Regions from separate parts of the Homo sapiens genome. Here regions 1, 3 and 4 are each linked to region 2. Evidence: promoter capture Hi-C in 16 types of primary human blood cells and fetal thymus (Javierre and others, 2016). All regions are on one chromosome and are shown on one strand. Each heading gives the region's core, a stretch centred on a gene start or on the middle of the fragment in contact. The rest is flanking DNA. Distances are from core to core; before and after follow the strand shown.

Region 1 (5,251 bases), core at 934-3,433, 600 kb before region 2:
TCGGGTGGAGAATGTTCTGGGCCCGTTACTGTTATGTTCTGTGTCTGCCTGGGGTTACATTGCCTCAGCTTTCAATCCAGAGTTGTTCTCCTAGGAAGGTGTCAGGTAAAGGGTATTTCTTGAGGTTCTGGTGGGTGGTTTCCTGGTCTATCCCGGGGGGATGCACCTACAGGGTTAGTTTGGGAGGGAGGAACAAGTGGGGAGAGGGGAGCCCCCAGACTGGAAAGAGCCAGTGGCGGGCAGTGTAAAATGGATCTTCCCCCCTCATCTCTCTACCCTGATACTAATGTGGGCTGACCTGTCCATGGTTTCAGCCTGATCATGTGCAAGAAATAACACAGCAGCGACAAAAATAGGACAGAGTAAACAGCTCGCTGCTCTTCTGTCTGTGCTCTGACACAAAAGTGAGCTGGGATAAAATTAACAAAGCATCTGGAAAAAGTAAAGTAGGACCTGGATCACAACTTCACAATTTAAAATTGTAGAAGTTTATACTGTTTCTTTTACAACATACTCAGTGAGTCTGTGGCCTCCTGCAATGCCTTTGAAGTTAAAGCTTTGGCCAAGAATGCAACTTCCATTGATGATATGGAAGCATATCATGTCATATGACATGCCAGGAGCATGTCATATATGTGTTTATTTGTGTGAATATATATACATGTAACTTCAGATGGTATATATGCAGATGAATTTTGATAATTTAGGTATACTGTATTTTAAAACGAATGGAATGGTCCTTCTGGTTGAGACTAATGATTCTGGGGATGGAGAAGGTGCAGGAGATGAGGCTTTCTCATGCATGACCCCCTCTCCTCCTGGGCAGAGCACACCATGTACAGTCCCAGATTAGGATATTAATCCTGTGTACACAGCATATACAGCATGCCAAAGCAAAGCCTTCCAGGAATGCAGTGTGGTCCTTAGGGCAAAGACTATTTGAGTTACTCTCCTTCCTTGAACACCGAGGTGCTTAATAAATGTTTGTTGATTGACTTAGTGATATGCAGCAATCCCAAGTAGTCCTTTGATGGTTGGTTTTAAAAATAAAGTTACACTGGAGCTCAATAAATATTTGTTTAATGTATTTGGAGGATGTATTTGGGTTTTTTCCATGTGAAGAGCTGCCAAACTGGTTTGGTTTTACTGTATTCTCTATGAGAAATATGAAGTGGGTTCCCATAAAGTCCAAAAGTTTTGTGAAAAGTTGGGCCCATCCTGGCATATAGTAGGTACTCCATAAATATTTGTTGAATGAATGAAATCAGAGCCACATGGAAAATGATGTTCCCATGAAAAGCTCTGATTTCTATTCGGTACATTTAATGTCCTAGTAGCTGACATTTTGTAAGATGATATGTTTTATTGGCAACAGTCCTACAATTCAGTAAAGTCACTGGCTCATGGGAATGTGTCTTTGACAGTTTATTCATTAAGCAAATATTTCCTGACTCCTACTCTGTTCTGGGCCTGGGCTCAGTCCTGGGGATGCTGAGGAGGAGAGGTCTAAATTGTTGATCATCTGTCAACAAAGACTCATTGAGTGTCTCAAGCTCTGGCCACAAAATGAAGGACAAGACAGCAAGGGCTTCTTGGCCCATCTGGGAGGATAAGCTACCTGGTAGTCTTAGTGCTAGGTGATTTTTATTGGTTGCTAATTACATCTAATAATTGTTATTGATGGAAAGCTAATTTCCCTAATTATCAATGCATTTATTCTGGTGATTCTTTTATCATAGCAGAAGATGGCTGTGCCACCCACGTATGCCGATCTTGGCAAATCTGCCAGGGATGTCTTCACCAAGGGCTATGGTGAGTGTTGCAGAGAGGGGGTGCCTTTCAGCTCACAGACTGAGTTGGCATGTTTGAGACTTTACCGATAACTGTTTAGGAGACCTGGGTAGGTCAGCTGTTCTGAACTTTCACGTGAGGGAAAAAAGAAGCTTTCATTTGTGTGGCAATTGTAGCAACTTTGGTTGTGCACCCAGTTGGACAGGCTCCTGCATTGGTGCTGTCAAGTGGGTATTCTTGTTTTCTTTTCCAAGTGTGGAGCAGCCCTGTGGAAGCTGCTGCAGTGGAGCGCGGCTTCTATATTTAGCCTGTGCTTAGGCACATGCCCACGAGGCCCAGTAACTGTGTCTTTGCCAGCTGTCAGGTGTCTTCTTATCAGACCCTGCTGGGAGTGCAGGTGGGACCCAGGTGGGGGTGCCCATTCTGTCTGCTGCTGTTCCATGGCAGCTGAGAGCTCCCCCCACGAGCAGCAGCAGAGACTGGGTGCCCTCAGCCCCTGTGGCAGGAGTGTGCTTCTTTTTAAAAAAGCATCCTGAAGCAACCATGAGGGAGGCAGAGGTGCTGTTCTCTAGTTATTTAACCTATTGACAGTTGTCTTCTTCTTTCTTTAGGATTTGGCTTAATAAAGCTTGATTTGAAAACAAAATCTGAGAATGGATTGGTAAGTTGTCCAACCCACATGGAACATGAGTATTTATTTATTTTTATTTTATTTTATTTATTTATTTTTGAGATGGAGTTTTGCTCTTGTCGCCCAGGCTGGAGTACAATGGCGTGATCTCAGCTCACCACAACCTCCACTTCTTGGGTTCAAGCGATTCTCCTACCTCAGCCTACCGAGTAGCTGGGATTACAGGCACCCGCCACCATGCTCGGCTAATTTTGTATTTTTAATAGAGACGGGGTTTTTCCATGTTGGTCAGGCTGGTCTTGAACTCCCGACTTCAGGTGATCCGCCCACCTTGGCCTCCCAAAGTGCTGGAATTATAGGCATGAGCCACTGCGCCTGGCTTATTTTTATTTTTAAAAAAGATTTTAGATTCAGGGTGTACATGTGCAGGTTTGTTACATGGATGTATTGTGTAATGGTGAGGTTTGGGCTTCTAGTGTACCCATTACCCAAATAGTGACCATTGTATGGAACGTGGGAATTTGTTGTAGATCAACAAATAACTGTCGTGACCTGGCCCGCAAAGCCAAAAGAAGGTACTTTTTTTTTTTTATTCTGGCAGTTTTTGTGGTTTTCACATTCATTCCATTTTCTGCATGATGGGTGGTCCAGGGGAACCATGCCAGTAGGCCCCCAGTTCAGCAGCGGGTAATAGAGGAGAATGGGTCAGGTCTCAGTTTTAGTTTTCCTTGTGCTTCTTATTTTCAAATTCACCTGCATTCAACCACATAAGTGTTTTTAAAGTAATCTTAGTAGTCCCTTTGAAATTATGTGTGCAGTAATTGTTGGAAGAAAGAAGTTTTGGGTTTGAATTACCGCTGTGTCAGCTTTAGCTCAGTGCTTTTTCTCTGTACTGCCCTGGAGCCAGGATGGAAGGGAGATGCTTTCCTGTCCAGACTGAAGAGTTACAGGGAGGAAGGAAGCTGTCTGCTGACAACAAATTCCCCATAAGATTTCTTTACATAGCAGGCTCCTTTACTCCCATCTGTACTTTAAATATCTATTTGAATTGTAGAGTTAGCCTTGGCCCCCCCACATTCAGGGTCTTGCCTCTTGCAGAAAGGCAAGTATAGTGTTTAGGAGTGAAGTGAAGCCAAGTGAGTGCTATGGTGCAGGCTGTGACTCTTCTCTCTCCTTTGAAGGAATTTACAAGCTCAGGCTCAGCCAACACTGAGACCACCAAAGTGACGGGCAGTCTGGAAACCAAGTACAGATGGACTGAGTACGGCCTGACGTTTACAGAGAAATGGAATACCGACAATACACTAGGCACCGAGATTACTGTGGAAGATCAGGTAATGGCTGCTGTGAAAAGATGTGGATTTATTAATTCGCATCTGCCAGCCTGCCTTGTGACTAAATCTAGTGGCAAATTTCTTTTCTGTTCAGCTTGCACGTGGACTGAAGCTGACCTTCGATTCATCCTTCTCACCTAACACTGGGTAAGAGTTTCATCTGTTTTCTCCACAAGGATGTTCTCTGATGTTGCAGGTGGTGGAAGCCCTTTGTGACAAAATGTTTTGGGGGCTGACAGCACCTAAAATATGGTCTCCGAGACCTGGCGATTTAAGTCCTCTGGTTTTGATTTGGTCCCAGGGGTCGTATCCACATCTATGCACTAACAGACTATGCTATAATGAGCACTTCCTAATTCAGGACTGGTGTTTACCCAACAAACGATTTCTAAGTGCCACCTGTGCTTGGCCCTGTGCCCATCTGGAGATCTAAGGGTGCCCAGGCCATGATTGTTACCCGCCAAGGAGCTCACTTTCTAATAGAGGATTCAGACCAGTGTTTAGCCGTGTTTTGTAATAAGATTCTGCATTTTGTTAGTGTTCTCCTAGTTTCTGCCATGGAGGTTGCAGGATTTCTGTTCAGTAATAGCCATTTCATGTGAGTTAGGCTGCTGGTGATGTAAGTGGCTATGACCAAACGGGAGTGGGTGACATTTGGAAGCAGGGCCTAACTGGTCACTGTTGCCAGCCTCATTTCTTCAGGCATGGAAGTCCTTCTCCCAGCTTCCTGCTGCTTAGGGACACTGAGACCCTGTGGGTGTAACTGCAAGGTGGCTCCTGAGGCTGCACTTTCCCCAGGCCTTCTGGCCACAGATGTAATAGGCTTGTTAGTTCTTGACCATCACTTGGCATGATAGCATGGTAGTCTGCCTCAATTCCTGGGTGCTTTTCAAAGTGCCTAGAAGGAATTATTCCCTTTTAGAATACACCCTTGTTTTTTTCCACTCATATTGGTGGGTCTTCCAAACCTGGGGAAGATGTTTTATATAGTGATGTTAGGGTCAAGGGCATGTACTGAATTTCAGTTTTTAAAAATTGTGGGCCGGGCGTGGTGGCTCACGCCTGTAATCCCAACACTTTGGGAGGCTGAGGCAGGCAAATCACCTGAGGTCGGAAGTTTGAGACCAGCCTGACCAACGTGGAGAAACCCTGTCTCTACTAAACATAAAAATTAGCTGCGCCTGGTGGGCGCATGCCTGTAATCCCAGCTACTTGGGAGGCTGAGGCAGGAGAATCGCTTGAACCTGGGAGGCAGAGGTTGTGGTGAGCCAAGGTGGTGCCATTGCACTGCACCCTGGGCAAGAAGAGCGAAACTCCATCTCAAAAGAAAAAAAAAAAAAAGAGTCGGATGCAGTGACTCATGCCTGTGATCCCAGCACTTTGGGAGGCTGAGGTGGGTGGATTGCTTGAGGTCAGGAGTTTGAGACCAGCCTGGGCAACATGGCAAAACCCCATCTCTAATAAAAATACAAAAATTAGCCAGGCATGATGGTGC
Region 2 (5,742 bases), core at 421-2,920:
AGGTTTCAGAAGGGGACACCAGGGTAGGGGCAGGGGTGTCAGAAAGGGTCAGTGACACATCATCCTAATTCCGCAGAGAGTGAGCTTGCTTGTTCTCCTTCCCACCCACCTGCAGAACTCCAGATTTTCAAGGGCGTCTCTCAACTGTTTAGCCATGAATGCTGGTTACAGGGAAGTTAAGACCCCTCTCCAGATGCAATATGTCGTGGCAGTGACCATGGATTTAGCTGTAATTCCAGTCTGGTCAATCTCACTGGGCTGCAGTGAGAGTAAACAGAGGTGAAGCCTGAACAGACCTGTCTGAACACGAATGAAAGGGAAGCTGGCTTCTGCAACAGAGGAGGAGGAGAGCACACACTTAAGATGCAGCAAAAGAGCATGCTTTGGGGAAAAATTATTACAAGAAACAGAAGCTCATTTTAGACAGCAACTGTGTTCTACTCCCAATGCAAGAAAACATGAACTCTGAAATGAGATAAAAAATGGGATTGTAAATTGGCTGAGCCACAGTCAAAAATAAAATGGAAGCTGGGGGAGGTAAGGAAAGAATATAAAGAACCTGAAATACAATTGCAGAAGTTCCTTCTCCACTTCAAGCAGTCAAAGGAAAGATTAACCATACAGAAATCATAGTTGTTCCAATACAGGGAACAAACTTGAAAACCGCTCCCCAAATACACCGAGAATGAGAAGAAGATTTAAAAAATACTGTGGGAGAGGATGATAGTTATGTAAGACAGAGATAAAAGATTTAAAATAATAGTGATTGGTTATCTTAAAGACCTCAGAGCAATTCAAATGGACACAATAAGCAAAGAGAGATCCAAAAAAATAAGTGCCCTATACTGAAAGATCTATCAAATAAGTCAAAATATAATTGCTGACATTTTAGGTTTTGAAAAAAAAAATTAAAGTGATCTGAAATATCCAGAGAGAGAAAAACAAAGCAGACAAAAAAAAAAAAAGTCCTACCTGGTGTTGCACTGGGGGCTCTTGAGTGGTTTCAGCTGACCGGCTTGCCCAGGGGCAGCTTCTCCCCTTCAGTTACATTTGTGTCAAAGGTGAGTCTCAGACACTGTCTGGTAGGAAGGAAAAAAAACATTCTGTTCTTGGACTTTTCTGCGATATTAAGAAGCAAGAAGGCAATGAAGAACATTGGTAGAATTTTGGGGTGGTAAGACCATGATGCAAGAATTCTACACTTATCAAATGGTGATCCATGTATGGAAAGAATAAAAAGTATTTTCTGCTGGGCAAGGGTTCAAATAATACACCATCCGTGTACTCTTGGCTGGGAAAAAAAGTGAAAGATGAACCCTTCACATTCTACAGAGAAATCAGAGAATCTGACAAAGAGGAACTCAAGGCTTAGGTGAGCACAGAGGCTCTTGAAATGAGAAGGTGTCTAAATAACTTTTTCAAATATAGTTACCAAAAATTGCAAAGGGTAAATGATGAGGTTAAGTGCGCTTAATTTTCTTGACTGACTTATTGGAATTTCAACAGATCCTGCATAATCCTTGACTCGGTATGTTAAAAAGCATACATGAGGGCAATATTCCATCAGAGCCCAGAACAAACCTCATGCAGCCCCAGACAAGTGTCCATGGCTGTTCCCAGGTGATCTGGGAGACTTCACCTCCTGCCTTCACTGGTGTATCCAGAGACCATGGGAAGGATCAGCCACTGACTGACGTGTTCGACCTACGGTCGGGCCTCCCCGTGCCTTCATCTCGGTGGCTAGAGTGTGCTCCCCAGAAAGCATGCAGGGCTACAACTGAAGTGGAAGAAAACCGCAGCGGGTCATAGTGTGTCTTCCTTGTGTGATGAAGCCTTTGTTCATGGGCGTGTGTCAGTATGCCAGTGACATGGTCAGGACAATTGGGAAGGCCTGAACTATTGGTTCTAATGTTGCAGTCAATACAATGTGATTAACCAATTAGAGAGAAATGCATAAGAGCCAAATTCTGTTGCCAAGAAAAGGCAAAGAAGGTAGAAGAGCTGCCCTGTTAAGAGATAGAGGTAGAAGTTCAACCCCCAAGGCAATAAAGGGCCACCATGGGACACAGCCTTGCAGAAAAGAAGGAATGGCCATCAGGGTGGGGTGGATAGGATCATGGGAAATACACATTCTCATTCACGGAGAATGTGCCAGGCTGCCAGCCCACCGCCAGGGGCTGTATGGACGTCATCTCATGCACTCCTTTTCCTAGTTGGTGTTTACTGAGAGGCAAAGAGAAGCCAGATAACTTTCCCAGTTACTGGACTTGTAAATGACGGCACCAGTACTGGCACCTGCCCATCCCCTTTCAGTGTGTGTCAGTGGCCACTCCCATGATTAGGAGAGATATTTGTCAGGGAGTGGGGCTTGACCTGAACCTGGAAGAGTGGGTGGGTGGGACATGAACAACCAGGTACAGGGCAGGGGCAGCAGCAGAGGGAAAGACTTCATGCAGCTTTGCTGATGTTATGGCTGCATTCCTTCCTCCTCCACCAGACTTGGCACTTGCAACTGATCAGACAGCAGGTACCTAAAAACTCTCACTCCCCTAAAGGGAAATGAGGAGAAGTTAGAGTTACCGCAGACATCAAATATTGTATATCCAGTTGTTTTAATGAAATGAATCACATTTACACCCATCTTGTCTTTGAACTTCAGTGGCTGTCTCCACGTGGCTATGTGACGTGACAACCCCAGTGAGCACATTACAAAGGAAGAAAGTCCCCGCCAATGCCACGTGAAACACAGGGTGAGGGCTTCGTTGCACAGGAAGAAAAACGTCCATATTTCTCGGTCACACCTTTCTGTCTCTCCACTTCTGCCTGGGTTCCTTCTCGCCAGTGTCCCCACCTCTGCCCCCTGCCAAATTTCAGTGACATGAAGATCTCGTTTATGTGCCAGGCTTGTCTCAATAAACATTCTCCTAGCAATTTTAAAGGAACAAACTTTCCATATTAAAAACTTTTGTGGTTCTCAGGGTAAACAACTGTGGGTATCAGGAAGACCTGAAGAAATGGGGAATCTATACAAAAGGAAGGCAAAGTCCACTGCTGAGAAATGTGGTTTCTCTCTGTAAAACATGCTGACAGAAGCCCATATACTAATTTAGAGAAACAGTTGGCACAAAACAAGATGCACAGTTGAGCGTGCCTGTCTAGAAGGCTGGGAAGGAAAGAACTTGAGTGAAGGCACCACCAGGATTCCTGTGGCTATAGCCCCACGGAGACTCTGCTGGCTGTGATTATAATCATCAAGCTTTGCAGCAAATGATTGTGATTTTACACATCCTACCCTTTTTAAAAAACCAGAGATTGGATGAGAATGGAGGGCAGGGTAACAACTAACTCAAAGAGCCCATGTGACATGCCAGGTCCAAGGCTGAGCATTCTGTGCACTTTCTGTTCTTTAATTCTGTGACAGCCCTTCAGGGTAAGGACTGTTATTACCCCTAACTTGGCAGGTGAGGAAACTGAGGCTCACAGAGGTTTAATGACTTGCCCAACACCACTCAACCGGTGAGGAGGAGAGCTGCAATAAAGACTGATTTGAAATGTTAAATGTTGTCTTTGCTCTGTCTGCTCTGCCACATCTCTTACATGTATAATTTAAAAAAAAAACACACACACATAGTGATTATCATTCAGCAACTGGGCAGATTGTGCCTGCACTCTCACTTGTGTTCTGAAGGCAACTTTCTGCACGTGTAGCTGACATGTGCCCGTGTTGTTAGCCACTCTTGACTCGACAAAGAAATTGTGATGGTTTTTGAAAATCTTTGTTTCTTTGTTGTTTTTGTTCCTTCTACTATGCCACACTGTCTATGTATATAATGATTCCTGTAATTAAAAAAGGAAGGAGGCCTTGCAGTGAGCACCTGCGCAGTCTCTCCCTTTTTCAAAATTAGCAAAAAGCCGGGGACTATGTATGGCTCACCTCAGAGGAGCCAGTGGACAGGGTGGGCTCAGGACCGAGCTGCTAACTAGATTTGCTGCCAGTGGACTCAGCCTCTGTGCAGCCCATGTTGGGTTCTAGGGGGACCAGGAGCCTGTGGGGCAGCCCGAGATGGCAGTCTTGGAAAAGGAATTCAGGGTGGGTGTGATCAGGGATAGAGCTTCTCTAGTGTACATCACACAGGAACCCATGAGTGGTACCGGCATGTGCTCTAAACCTCATCCTGCCTGTTTGTTCACACTCCTGAGGATAGTAAAGTAGTGGTCCCTGTTTTCAACACTGCACCGATCAAGTTTCATTCTTGTGTTTCACGATTTCATAGAAAGATCTGTGATTCTTGCATCTGGGCCATTCATACCTTGGCAGGATTCTGCAATTCCGCATTTCATTGCTTCAACAAACAGTGCTGAGTGCCTGCTGTGTACCAGGCCTAGTCGAGGGCCCGGTGGCGGGGGTCCAAGAGGAGTGTGAGAGGGCCCTGCCCATGGGGAGCTGAGAGGGGACACACACCCCCTGCCTATTGTAAACCAGGGTGGGGAGCGCGACAACGGAGCACGTCCAGTCTGTTATGGAAGGAACAGGGAGGCCTCCAAAAGGGGGTGCCATCTGGACTGAGTACTAAATGATGAGAAATGGGTTAGAGAAAGAGGAGGGGAGTCTTCTAGGCCAAGGGTTAGGATATGAAGCCAGCATGGGGAGCCACAAGCCAATTGGTGTTTCTCCAAATATAGAGTTTAGGGCAGAGAGAAAGCAGCAAGGGCAAGCCTGGAAAGGAGCTTTGGCCAAGCTGGGGCCAGACCTGGACCATCAGGTTAAGGAGTGTGGACTTTCTCCTGGATGCAAGGGGAGGCAGCATTCTAGGGTTTTAAACCATAGGCCTGGTGTTCAGAAAGATCACCTGTGTTGCCCTTGGGACAGAGTGACCCTGGAGGCAGGGGCCCAGCAGGAGGCATCGAGGACATTCAACAAAGCCACACAGAAGCCTGAATCGGGGGAGTGGGCAGACCGGAGAATCACTTAGGAAAAATACAGTCAGCAGGACCAGGCACTGATTGTGAAAATTAACCATCACACCTGCCCACCCCAGGATGGTTCTAACTGCCTTCCTCCATCCTTAGCCAGTCCTCGTCTAAGCAGAAGTACAAGTCATCTCAGCGAGGCCTGAGTGAAATCCTTCAACTGACAAGAGCCAAGTTTCCCATTTGGGCTGGGCCCTGAACAGTCCTGGGAAAGTGTCAGCCCTTCGTCAGGGCGCACCCTGTCACCACCCCGTCTGGAAAGCGGGCCACTGACTCAGAAAGGAAATGTGGCTTGGATGCCGAAGTCAGAGTGTGATTCTCCTACCCTGTGGCTCAGTCCCTGTCCTGGACTATAGATGGATGGAGTGTTGCACTCTAGGGTCATTGCACCTTCCTTTCCTGAGTTGCAACCTCCACCTCCAGTACGCAGGGGTTCCGCAGGAGGGTGGGGAAGCAGCTTGATTCCAGAAGTCTTTACCTCTCCTCATCCACCAGCCTCAGAGGTGCTTTCTGCCAATCACATTTTTCCCAGCAGTCTTCTTTTCTTCCAAAAGCTTAATAATTTAAACAATATCCATTTGAAATTATATTTAAACACTTAAACAATGTAAGATGCAAACTTAAGGGGAGAAAGACCAAAGGGGAATTTAGGTGTCGGATTTCTCAGAACAAAAGAACAGTCCACAATTGGAGGGAGAGGAGTGGCAGAGCACAGAGGCTGCTGATTAGATCCAAGTGTGCCTCCTTTCTAAGGATACTTTTGTCTGAGAA
Region 3 (5,128 bases), core at 269-2,768, 540 kb before region 2:
GTGGCCAGCAGAGCTTTACAGGCCCAAGGCCCTGCCTGAGCTACCTCAGAAGAGAGGAGGCACCGTGTAGTGCTTCCAGAACGCCTCCCACGGTCTCTCAGCGGAGTGGGGACCCACGGATGTGCTGAGGAGAGAGATCCAGACTGTGGGTGACACATGCAAATGCCCAGTTGCCACATACGCTGGACTCTTCCCAGTTCCAGGAGCCTGCAAAGCTCCTGAGCCTGTCTTTCCAGAATGTTCTTCCAGCCAAAGTCTAAGGTGCTGATGAGGAAAAAGCAGAGTAAGACTGTGATGATGCTGGAGAATGTGTACCCATACTGGAGGCAGTATGGGGACTGTCGTGGGTTGACCTGTGCCATCCAAAAGACATGTTACAGTCTTAGCCCCATTATTTCAGAATGTGACTTTATTTGAAAATAGGGTCTTTACAGATGAGGTTTGTTAAAATAAGGTAACACTGGATTAGGGTGGGCCCTAAATCAACGGCTGGTGTCCTTATAAGAAGGCCATGTGACAATGGAGGTGGAGATTGGTGAGATCCAGAAGCGAGGAGACGCAGGGAATTGATTCTACCTGGAGCCTTCAGAGGGAACATGGTTCTGCAGATACTGTGATTTTGGACTTGGCCTCCAGAACTGAGAGAATACCTTTCTTTTGTTTAAAGCCACCCAGGTTATGAACACTAATATAGGGGGTGAATTGGAGGGCTTGGCCCACCCGGAGGCACTAGATTCCATTCCTAGAGGCTGGAACGATGTCCTCAAAAGAGGAAGGAAGGGTTAGGACAGGATTTTCAATCCAAAAGTCCAAGTAGAAGGAAACATATTCGAAGCTTGGCCCTTAAGTCTGTGATCTTGGCCTTCTCAATGGTCTGTCCCTGGGGCCTCCCCAGTTTGGTCAGGCTCTGGGGCCTGTGTGGGCCCGACAGTGCATATCCTCTGTGTGAGGACTGGTCTGGCTGAGAAGTTTCTGTGTGTTATGGGATCAAAACTGAGATTGGACTTTGTACGTCCAAGCCAGAAAGTAGAAAGTGATTTCCTTTAAATCATCTTAAAAAGTTTCTGACTAGAATTTTAAGTCTGTTTATCAGCACAAGGGACTCTATATCACTCTCTACCACCCCCTATTTCTCTATTTTAACTGGAAGATAAAAATAGTTAATCAGAGAGTCAGAGTTGAATGGGGAAAGTACCTGATTCTCACATTCTTTCCTTTTTCTCTCATTCACAAAGTGAATTTGGAGATAGGGAGCAGCTGGCTGAGGGAGGAGCGCCCCAGCATCTGTATTGATGGAGAAGAAACCCGGCTGGGTCCATGGGGACCCACAGCTGCCACCATCAAAGCCTCATCCAGCATAGGCCGGAGCAAGGGTAAAAGCTTATTTGCGGGGAGCTGAACTTCCCCTTCCCCAAAGCCAGACAGCAACCTGAGTGACCCGGTTCAGAGTGGAAGCCTGAATCCTCCCCTCCTTTCTCTTATTTGTCATTATTTAAAAATCCTTCAGTCCCCTTCAGGGCTCAGATCTTATTGCTGTTGATTCCCGCCCCCTCCCCCTTTTTTTTTTTGAGACAGGGTCTCACTCTGTCACCCAGGCTGGAGTGCAGTGGCATGATCTCAGCTCACTGCAACTCTGCCTCCTGGGTTCAAGCTTTTCCCACCTCAGCCTCCCGAGTCGCTGGGATTACAGGCACGTGCCACCATGCCCAGCTAATTTTTTGTATTTTTAGTAGAGATGAGGTTTCACTATGTTGGACAGGCTGGTCTTGAACTCCTGACCTCAGGTGATCCACCCACCTCGGCCTCTCAAGGTGCTGGGATTACAAGCATGAGCCACCACGCCTGGCCCCCGATGTCCATTTTTTATGCAAATGGTTGTTTATTATGTCTGCTCACAGCCCCAGGAGGACAGGGATTTTGTTCCTTTTGTTCACTGCTGTGTCCTCAGTGCGTAGAATGTGCTTGGCGCATAGTGGGTGCTCAGAAAATATTTATCGAATCAATTAATCTGAAAAAGATTGCTGCTTTGCGGAGACACGTGCTGACTGTAATCTCAAATCCACGTGGAAGGAGACAGAGAGGGAGGGCACACACTTTTTTCCTTGAAAGTGAAGAAGAATCCAAACCACATATTCACAGTGCCTGTGCCTGTAATTTCTCCAGAATACCTTTACAGGTATAAAGTGCTGGAGTCGGCGTTATGATCACCGTGTCACTGATGGGAAACGGAGCCTGCGTGGAGTGAAATAACTTGCTCATAGTGACACAGCACTGGGCCAGGAACCCTGCTGTCCTGCCTGGAGTCCATGTCCCATGCCCTGGATCAGTGTGGACTGTAAAAGTGGTATTTATTAATTTATATTTGAATCATGGCATTGAAAAAGAAAACCGGCTGATCCAGCATTTTCCAAAATGTATCCTAAGACTCTAGGTCCTCAAGATCCTTTGTGAAAAATCTGCAAACTTTTGTTCCTCCCACAGAGGATGTAGGGGAAGGATCTATCAGGATCCTGATAGATCCACACACATCTATCAGGATCTCTAAGTCCTACAGGAAGGGGGCCCATTTAACTTCATCGAGTCCTGTGTTTTCCTCTGGTTTTGAACTTTAGGAGGCCGCCCCCTTCCCTCCCTTTCTCCCTCCTTCTTTCCTTTCTAGTAGTAAACATCCTGCAGTGGGAAATTTGGATGCCATCCAATTCCTTGGTATCTTCCTTACAAGGAAGACCCTCATTCACCATTTTCAGACGATGGCATGGAGGGGAGAAGGGCCTAGGGCTGAAACCTCACTGCTAAAGACTCAGGCCTGGCAACAAAACCCTCCTGGGCTCTTGTGCTGGCTGGTCCTCTTGGGAAGGATGGCTGGGCTCTAGAGGGGTGGGTGCCTGGGGTGTCGCTAGCAGGATGGGCGTTCTGGGGGAAGGAGCCAACTCCCATAGCTGGCAGCTGCCCTCCTGGAGCTGAGTGGAACAGTCTGTGGTTAATTATTTGCTTCTCCTGAACAGCGCTGCCTACCCCGACCCGCAGCTCCCTGAGCCTGATTACATTACCCCTTCCAGGCAGATTTATCTCAAACTTGTTTGATGCCTCTCCAAAGAGCTCCATCTGGTTCCCTCACTATTCCTGACAGGTGGCTAACACAGCTCTCTGAAGCCCCCCAAACACCAGGAAGCATCTTCTACAGAACTGACTTGGCTGTTATGTCACATTGCTGTCTCCCCATCGTGTATTTGCTACAACCACAGACATTTGTATGGAAATGGAATCAGTGTTTGTAAGGGCTCATCTGCTCAGGCTGCCTTGTGAGCAGGCACTGGGGGACAATCTGCCCAGCCAGCACCCACCCACGTGGCTCCGAGGCTCCTCAGGCAGGACTTCTCTAGCCTCTGAGGGTAGGGGACACCATTGGGCTGGGATTTATGACCCGGGTGAGCCTTCCTGGGCCACAGGAGCATCTGCTTCAACACTGCAGCAACGTCTCTCCATCTCTTAGCCTATGTCCAGAGTGGGGCTGTCCCTCGCCGGGCTGCGGGCTGTGCTGTGGAGCGCTTGGCCAGAGGGTGGGACCCTGCTGTGCCAGGAACAGTGGTGGGGAGGCCTGGGGCCACAGACTGTAACGGAGGCACAGAGGAGCCATGTGCGGCACATCAAGAGAGGAGTTAGGCACGAGTGCACCTTTTTCCATCCAGATACACCCTACAGGAGCGTGGACTCAGCGTTTACAGAGCACTTTCACCTCCCTTCAGAGTTTTTCTTCAGGACGGGAGTTACCGAGTAAATGCCTGTGTCCTCACCAGAGTCATCTGTTAGAGGCTAACCGCCAATGCCAAGGCATTAGGAAGTGGAGCCTGTGGGAGGTGATGAGGGTTGAGGGGAGGGCATGTGAGTGGGGCCCTCCTGATGGGATTAGCGCCCTTGTAAGGAGAGGAAGAGACACCAGAGCTTCCTCTCTCCGCCATGTGAGGACCCAGCAAGAAGGCAGCAGCCTGCAAACCAGGAAGAGGGCCTCCTCAGAACTTGGCCATGCTGGCAGCCTCCTCGGAGTCCCAGCCTCCACAGCTGGGAGAAACAAGCGTCTGTTGTTTAAGCCCCCAGGCTGTGGTGTTTTTTTACAGCAGCCTGAGCTGACTAAGACAATGTGAGAGTTCAGCTTGCAGGAAGCGGAGGTTCATCGGCTCCAGGTCACACAGTCTGGTCCTGCAGCTCCAAATTCCAAACCCCTTGCTCAGTACCAGTGGGTCAGGGTCGGAGAATTCCAAGGAAGGCCAGGCTGGGGAGGGGCCCCTGAGGGTGGGGATGGGGGCAGTCCACCCTGGAGATGGAGTCCTACTCTGCCACATGGTTCAGAGCAGGCCCTGCCTTGGGGACCCTCCCCTCCATCCCTTTCAGGCTGTATGGTTTGGGGGCCCTCTACCTATACCAACCCACCTTCGGGAGTGCATTAGACCTAGGCCTGGCCAAGCCAGTAAACGCCTATTGAGCACCTTCTACATGGCAGGTGCTGTCCAAGTGCCTGGGAAATAGCAGTGAATAAAACAGGCAAAAATCCCATGCTGTGGACTTTACATGTTGGTGGAGGAAGAAAGACAATAAAAATCAAATATCCACTGCATTAGAAAGTTGGAATGGTTGGGAGGACAATACAGTGAGGAGGGGACAGGGTGTACGTGGGCGGAATGGAAGTGGGGAGAACTGAGGAGGTGGCACCTGAGGAAGTACTTGAAGGAGGGGAGAGAGGAACTCGGCAGAGGGAATGGAGAGGGCAGAGTCCCTGAGGCAGAAGCACTGGTGGGTGGGTTTGAAGAGCAGCAAGAAGCTGCTGTGACTAGAGCAGAGAGGAGAGGATTTGGAGGTGGGGGCTGAGGTAGGGCCTTTGGCTGGTGCTCAGAGGGTGATGGGAGGCCATTGAGGGGTATGGGGCAGAGAAATGCCACCGTCTCACCCACATTTTGACAAGAGCACTCTGTGTTGTGATGAACAGCCTGCGGGGAGGGGGCCCTGTTGGAGGCTGGTACAGCAGAATCCAGGTGAGAAACGGTAAAGGGGGCAGAAGGAGTCCGACACGGTATGTATTTTGAAATGTTTGCTGACCACTTGAATATGGAGTGAGAGAGAGGGAGGCAGTGAG
Region 4 (5,219 bases), core at 1,151-3,650, 560 kb before region 2:
GGCGTGATCTCGGCTCACCGCAATCTCTGCCTCCTAGGCTCAAGTGATTCTCTTGCCTCAGCCTCCAGAGTAGCTGGGATTACAGGGGCACACCACTACTGCCCATCTAATTTTTGTATTTTTAGTAGAGACAGCGTTTCGCCATGTTGCCTTGGCTGATCTTGAACTCCTGACCTCAAGTGATCCCCCGACCTTGGCCTCCCAAAGTGCTGAGATTACAGGCGTGAGCCCCTGTGCCTGGCCTGATATAGTTTGACTCTCCAAATCTAATGTTGAAATGTGATCCTCAGTGTTGGAGATGGGGCCTGGTGGGAGATGTTTGGGTCTTGGAGGCAGGTCCCTCATGAATGGCTTGATGCCCTCCCCATGGTAATGAACGCATTCTTGCTCTGTTAGTTCATGCAAGAGCTGGTTGTTTAAAGGAGCCTGGCACCTCCTCCCACCCTTGTTCCCTCTCTTGTCATGTGATGCACCTGCTCCCCACTTGCTTTCTGCCATGATTATAAGCATCCGGAGGCCCTTACCAGAAGCAGATGCTGGCACCATGCTTCGTGTTCAGCCTGCAGAACCATAAGCCAAAGTAAAACTCTTTTCTTTATAAATTACCCAGCCTCAGGTATTCCTTTATAGCAATAGCAAACTAACACGTGGTGGGAGGGCTAGACTGGTACCAACTACTCCATCATAGCTGGAAGCAGAAGTTTCCCTCTTTCTTTCTTGATGAAGTGAAGCATGTGTTGGCAAAGATGTTGAGACAGACGCCAGGCAGAGCTAGCCACTTTCTCTGACCCTTTGTCAGGTCTCTATGAGCAGTATGGCAACTACTTGTTAGGCTCTGTAAGTGCATAGCTGTAATGTCTTGCAACCCCCTGCCTTTAGCAGACTCCAAATGAAGGAGCTTCTACTACATAAACACTGGCGTAAGATTTTCTCGGATCCTGGAAATGATTCATCTTACCGTTACCACCAGATAGAGTGTGTTCATTTCTTATTACAAATCCAGTTCTGCCTATATTAGTCTGCCCTTTTACAGTGAAAAAGTTAAGGTTGCCCTGCTGCCTGGTTGAGAGTAGTAGACCGTTTCAAAGGTCTACTGGGCTTCTTTGCTGCTGAAAGTCATTAACTCATGGGCTAGATTGTTGGCCTTGGGCCTGTAGGCAGAAAGCCATGTAGTAAACACTGTTCCAACAGCGGGAGACACACAAGGCATGTCTTTCAGCCCATTAGGAAGGAGGCATGGCCAAATGAAACACCAGCACAGGAAAGTTACCCTGAGATATGCTATGCCTATAAAGAATGTGAAGCTTGGTGTCTCACTCTGCTCTAGGAGCCCACAAGCAACTCATTCATTCAATAGACATCTAGTGATTGCCTGTACTGAGCCAGGCCCTGTGCTGAGTTTTGGGGATACAGGGCAAGGGAAAGGTTCACCAAACACATGATGCTTGGATTGGCTCCTGGGGTCAAATCTTGGTTCCAAAGAAAATTGAGAAAAAATATTGCAGTGAGCTCATCTTTTCCACGTTTGAAGAAAAGAACATACAAATCAAGTTCATATTTTGGAAAGGAACCCAGAGATTTCATTTTGGAGCTCAGGAGCATTGCTTGGAGGGGGACCCCTGGCCTTGCCTAACCCATCCACAGGCTCTCAAGAACCCAGACCCAATTGTATTTCCATAGTGGAAGATAAGAACACACTTCTATCCTTTTTGGAAGCCTGAGGACTCCTTCTGATCCTCTCCTTTTCCTCTTCTCTCCCAGAAACAGATGTCTGAGCTTGAGGACACCAATTTCACATTATAGGATCAGGTATGGCCCTTTGGGATCCATCACTGGGTTACTCTAGGGGCTGGACCCTCCCTTCTTGCCCTTCTGGCACCCATAGTCTGTGGTTGGGTTTGTGATGGGTAGAAATGTGGTAGTTCTGTTTCAGGTGCCCTGAGCAGGGAGACTGTTGGCCAGGGTGAACATTTATGGGGTCTGTATGTTCTTTGGATAAGTGAATCTACCTCCCTAAAGTCTTGATGTTTTCTCTGAAAATTCCGTTTCTGTTGAAGGGGAGGTCTCTGCAGGTTCTAAGATTCCAGAGACTTCCTAGGTTTCCAAAGATGATTTCTGGGCTTCCTTTTGTTAGTTTTATAAATATACCTCTGACTTCCTTTCTTGGTCATGTTCTTGTGAGCCCTCTGGCTTTGGGGCCTAAGGTCATGAACAAGGGAAGCAGGCAGAGCTACCTTGGTTACTGGGTCTGGTTTTTTGGGGTTCGCTTGACCACATTGGTGGATAATACCTTGAGGCCAGGTAGGATGGTGTGCCTGGACACACCCTTGACCATATCTTGTCCTGATTCCACCATCCCCTCTCTCTGCCCTCCCACCAGCTTGCAGAGTCCTTTTCTGCCTTGTATCCATTGTCACTGGCAGGATGATGATGTTCCTTCCATGGACAGGCTTAGATTTTTGAGGAAACCCAGGTGTGTGTGTGTGTGTGTGTGTGTGTGTGTGTGTGTGTGTGTGTGTTTTAAGGGAGGAAAAGTCTATGATATGATGGTCAGAATTAGTTACAATGAAATAATAAAAGTTTGTGGATTTAAAAATAAAACAATTGGGTCTGGAAAATACACTGTAGAGGAGGTTCTCTAAGTGGAAATCTGTGAATGCTGTGGCATTCTAAGTTTTCAGTTGGAAAGGGATTACTGAGTTGGGAAGCTGTATCCTGCCCTGGAAGCTAAGAAGGCAGAGGGAAGCCTGATCTGCTACCAACTGAGTGGCCATCAGAAATGGGAGCTGCAACCTTCCTGGGTGATGGTATAAGGCCTCTTTGCTCTCTCAGTAGAGCAAGTATGAATGCCAATCAATGAAGGGCACAGTGTTTTCCTCATCAGCCCTTCTGCATGAAACAAGGAAACCATTTGATAACACGCCAAGGCTCACCAGAGAGGGAGGGGACTGAGGCTTCAAAGTGATGTGTTAGATTCTTTGGGAATGTACCAGAAGGGTATAGCTTCCTGACTCAGTAATCCCATTCCAACCAGAAAACATAGCATGCCACAGAGTCCACAGATTCCAGTTAGGCCAGGGAGAAAGGGAGTCCATAATTACTTCTGATAAAAGATACATGAATAGCCGGGCACTGTGGCTCACGCCTGTTACCCCAGCACTTTGAGAAGCTGAGGCGGGTGGATCGCCTGAGGTCAGGAGTTCAAGACCAGCCTGGCCAACATGGTGAAACCCCATCTCTACTAAAAATACAAAAAATTAGTCAGGTGCGGTGGTGGGTGCCTATAATCCCAGCTACTTGGGAAGCTGAGGCTGGAGAATCGCTTTAACCCGGGAGGCGGAGGTTGCAGTGAGCAGAGATCGGGCCACTGCACTCCAGCCTGGGTGACGGAGTGTGACTCTGTCTCAAACAAACAAACAAACGAAAAGATACATGAATAAGTAGGGAAAATTCATGAAGGTGTGGCCAGTATTGGATAAATGTATCCAAAGCTTTCTGATGGACCAGATTTTAAGAAAAGGATTTTCCTGGTACATAAACTGCTCAGAGCCTCCAAGAGTTTGATTCTTTCCTTCCAGCTCTCCTGGCACAGCCAGAGGAGGGTTTTGTGTGATTGGCCCTTGAAACATTATTACAATCACTTTGTGGCCTCCTTCAGCTTATTTTTAATTACAAGGTCTATTGCATTTTTAAATTATTAACTCTGACAATTACTTATCTTGGCATTTTCTTATCTCGATGAAAATGAAAACAGCAAGGTCATGTTAGCTCACTTGAGGTTTCGGTCTGCTGCAGCTTAAATTGAGCTGAATAGATCAGCAAATGTTTGCAGTGCGGGGACCAGCTGAGGTTGCAGAGGGTCTGCTCAGGGAACACGGGCAGAAAGAACTTGGCAACACAGAGGCTAGTTCAAGGGCGTTTGGGGCCCAGGTGATCGGAGCCCGTCTGTGGAAGTGGGAGGTGCCCTTGTAGGTGATGATGGCCCATAAGCAGCTTCTTCCCCTCAAGAGCTCTGCGTACATCTCCCCTGGGATAGACAGCCAGAGGCAGAGCCCAGAAGGCGATAGCGACCCTCTGCCTCACAGTAACTTCTTTCTCTGATCTTCTGTGGTGGTCCTCACTCTATGACAACAACAGCAACTAAACGATAACAATAAGTGACTGTTACTGAGTGCTTACTGTGTGTCTAATACCTTGCCCACGACACTTGGCAAATATCCATGGATGCTGGGCACTGCAGGCCCTCATCGCCATGCTGCCTTCTGTCCAGCAGGGGGTAGTGTGACTACACCATAAAGGGGACCTCCTTCTTTACCTGGGTTCTCAGGAAAAAGCATCTTCGAGTTTCTGCTGGATGCTGGAAGGATGCTTCTGGCAGTAAGTCCAAATCTCCGACAGTGAGGGCAAAAGAAAGCATGATTATCGGCCAGGCGCGGTGGCTCACGCCTGTAATCTCAGCACTTTGGGAGGCTGAGGTGGGTGGATCACCTGAGGTCAGGAGTTCGAGACCAGCCTGACCAACATGGTGAAATCCTGTCTCTACTAAAAATACAAAAATTAGCCAGGTGTGGTGGAGCATGCCTGTAATCCCAGCTACTTGGGAGGCTAAGGCAGGAGAATTGGTTGAACCTGGGAGGCAGAGGTTGCAGTGAGCTGAGATCATACCACTGCACTCTAGCCTGGGCGACAGTGCAAGACTCCGTCTCAAAAAATAAATAAATAAATAAATAAATAAAAATAAATAAAATAAAAATAAATTAAGAAGAAAAGAAAGTACGATTGTCATAACTCCCCCAATCTCAGGGCACCTGCAGGTCCATTAGTCCCAACCTGAAGTCCTTTGTTGTTCAGTCCCCAGCTCCACTGACTCCTCCAAGGGCAAAGGGCAGGCATGAACTTGGAGAAATGGCTTCGGCCTCAGTGGACAATGCTGGTACCACGGTAGGGTCCTTGGCAACATGCCTCCTTAGAGATACACAGACGGTTCCTCAACCTGAGAGCCATTTGGTGGGAAGTACAGATGGGGTGCACCCATCCCCAGATGTGTTATATGCATTAGCTAATGGGCACTGCTGTTGAGAGACTGCTTGGCCATTTGGGGCAGCTGGCTCAGAAGGCACGTCCCTCGGATGTCTGCAGCTTCTCAGCCAGAAACCCGTGAAAAAGTTCCATCTTTCCCATAGGCTGGGAGCCAGTCACACCCTGGGTATAATGCCGAA

What was found. Contacts are between HindIII fragments. The CHiCAGO score rates a contact against its expected background, and 5 or more counts as called.
Region 1: a fragment that was not itself captured here is called in contact with the fragment with the promoter of CTB-3M24.3 in region 2 in 1 of 17 cell types (naive B cells); the score reaches 5.0 in naive B cells.
Region 3: a fragment that was not itself captured here is called in contact with the fragment with the promoter of CTB-3M24.3 in region 2 in 1 of 17 cell types (endothelial precursors); the score reaches 9.4 in endothelial precursors.
Region 4: a fragment that was not itself captured here is called in contact with the fragment with the promoter of CTB-3M24.3 in region 2 in 1 of 17 cell types (endothelial precursors); the score reaches 7.4 in endothelial precursors.

What each region holds. Positions count from the first base shown.
Region 1 is chr5:133,989,507-133,994,757 of GRCh38, reverse strand. It overlaps VDAC1 (voltage dependent anion channel 1), which reads left to right. Exons shown (of 9, transcript NM_003374.3): 2 at 1,740-1,812; 3 at 2,403-2,452; 4 at 3,604-3,756; 5 at 3,851-3,903. The coding sequence starts at 1,746. Among named protein-coding and RNA genes, the nearest start is that of VDAC1, 13 kb to the left of the region's middle. The HindIII fragment of the contact is 476 bases long and covers 1,946-2,421 here.
Region 2 is chr5:133,383,810-133,389,551 of GRCh38, reverse strand. CTB-3M24.3 (a long non-coding RNA gene) reads right to left here and starts at 1,670. Exons shown (of 3, transcript XR_948794.4): 1 at 1,582-1,670; 2 at 973-1,079. All of the region lies in intron 4 of FSTL4 (follistatin like 4), which reads left to right. The HindIII fragment of the contact is 3,410 bases long and covers 1-3,258 here.
Region 3 is chr5:133,925,045-133,930,172 of GRCh38, reverse strand. It overlaps LOC105379182 (a long non-coding RNA gene), which reads left to right. Exons shown (of 5, transcript XR_948797.3): 4 at 1,236-1,373; 5 at 2,164-4,551. Among named protein-coding and RNA genes, the nearest start is that of WSPAR, 14 kb to the right of the region's middle. RefSeq lists an enhancer at 1,433-1,482. The HindIII fragment of the contact is 271 bases long and covers 1,383-1,653 here.
Region 4 is chr5:133,943,499-133,948,717 of GRCh38, reverse strand. LOC105379182 (a long non-coding RNA gene) reads left to right here. Exons shown (of 5, transcript XR_948797.3): 3 at 1,762-1,809. Among named protein-coding and RNA genes, the nearest start is that of C5orf15, 23 kb to the left of the region's middle. The HindIII fragment of the contact is 2,187 bases long and covers 1,307-3,493 here.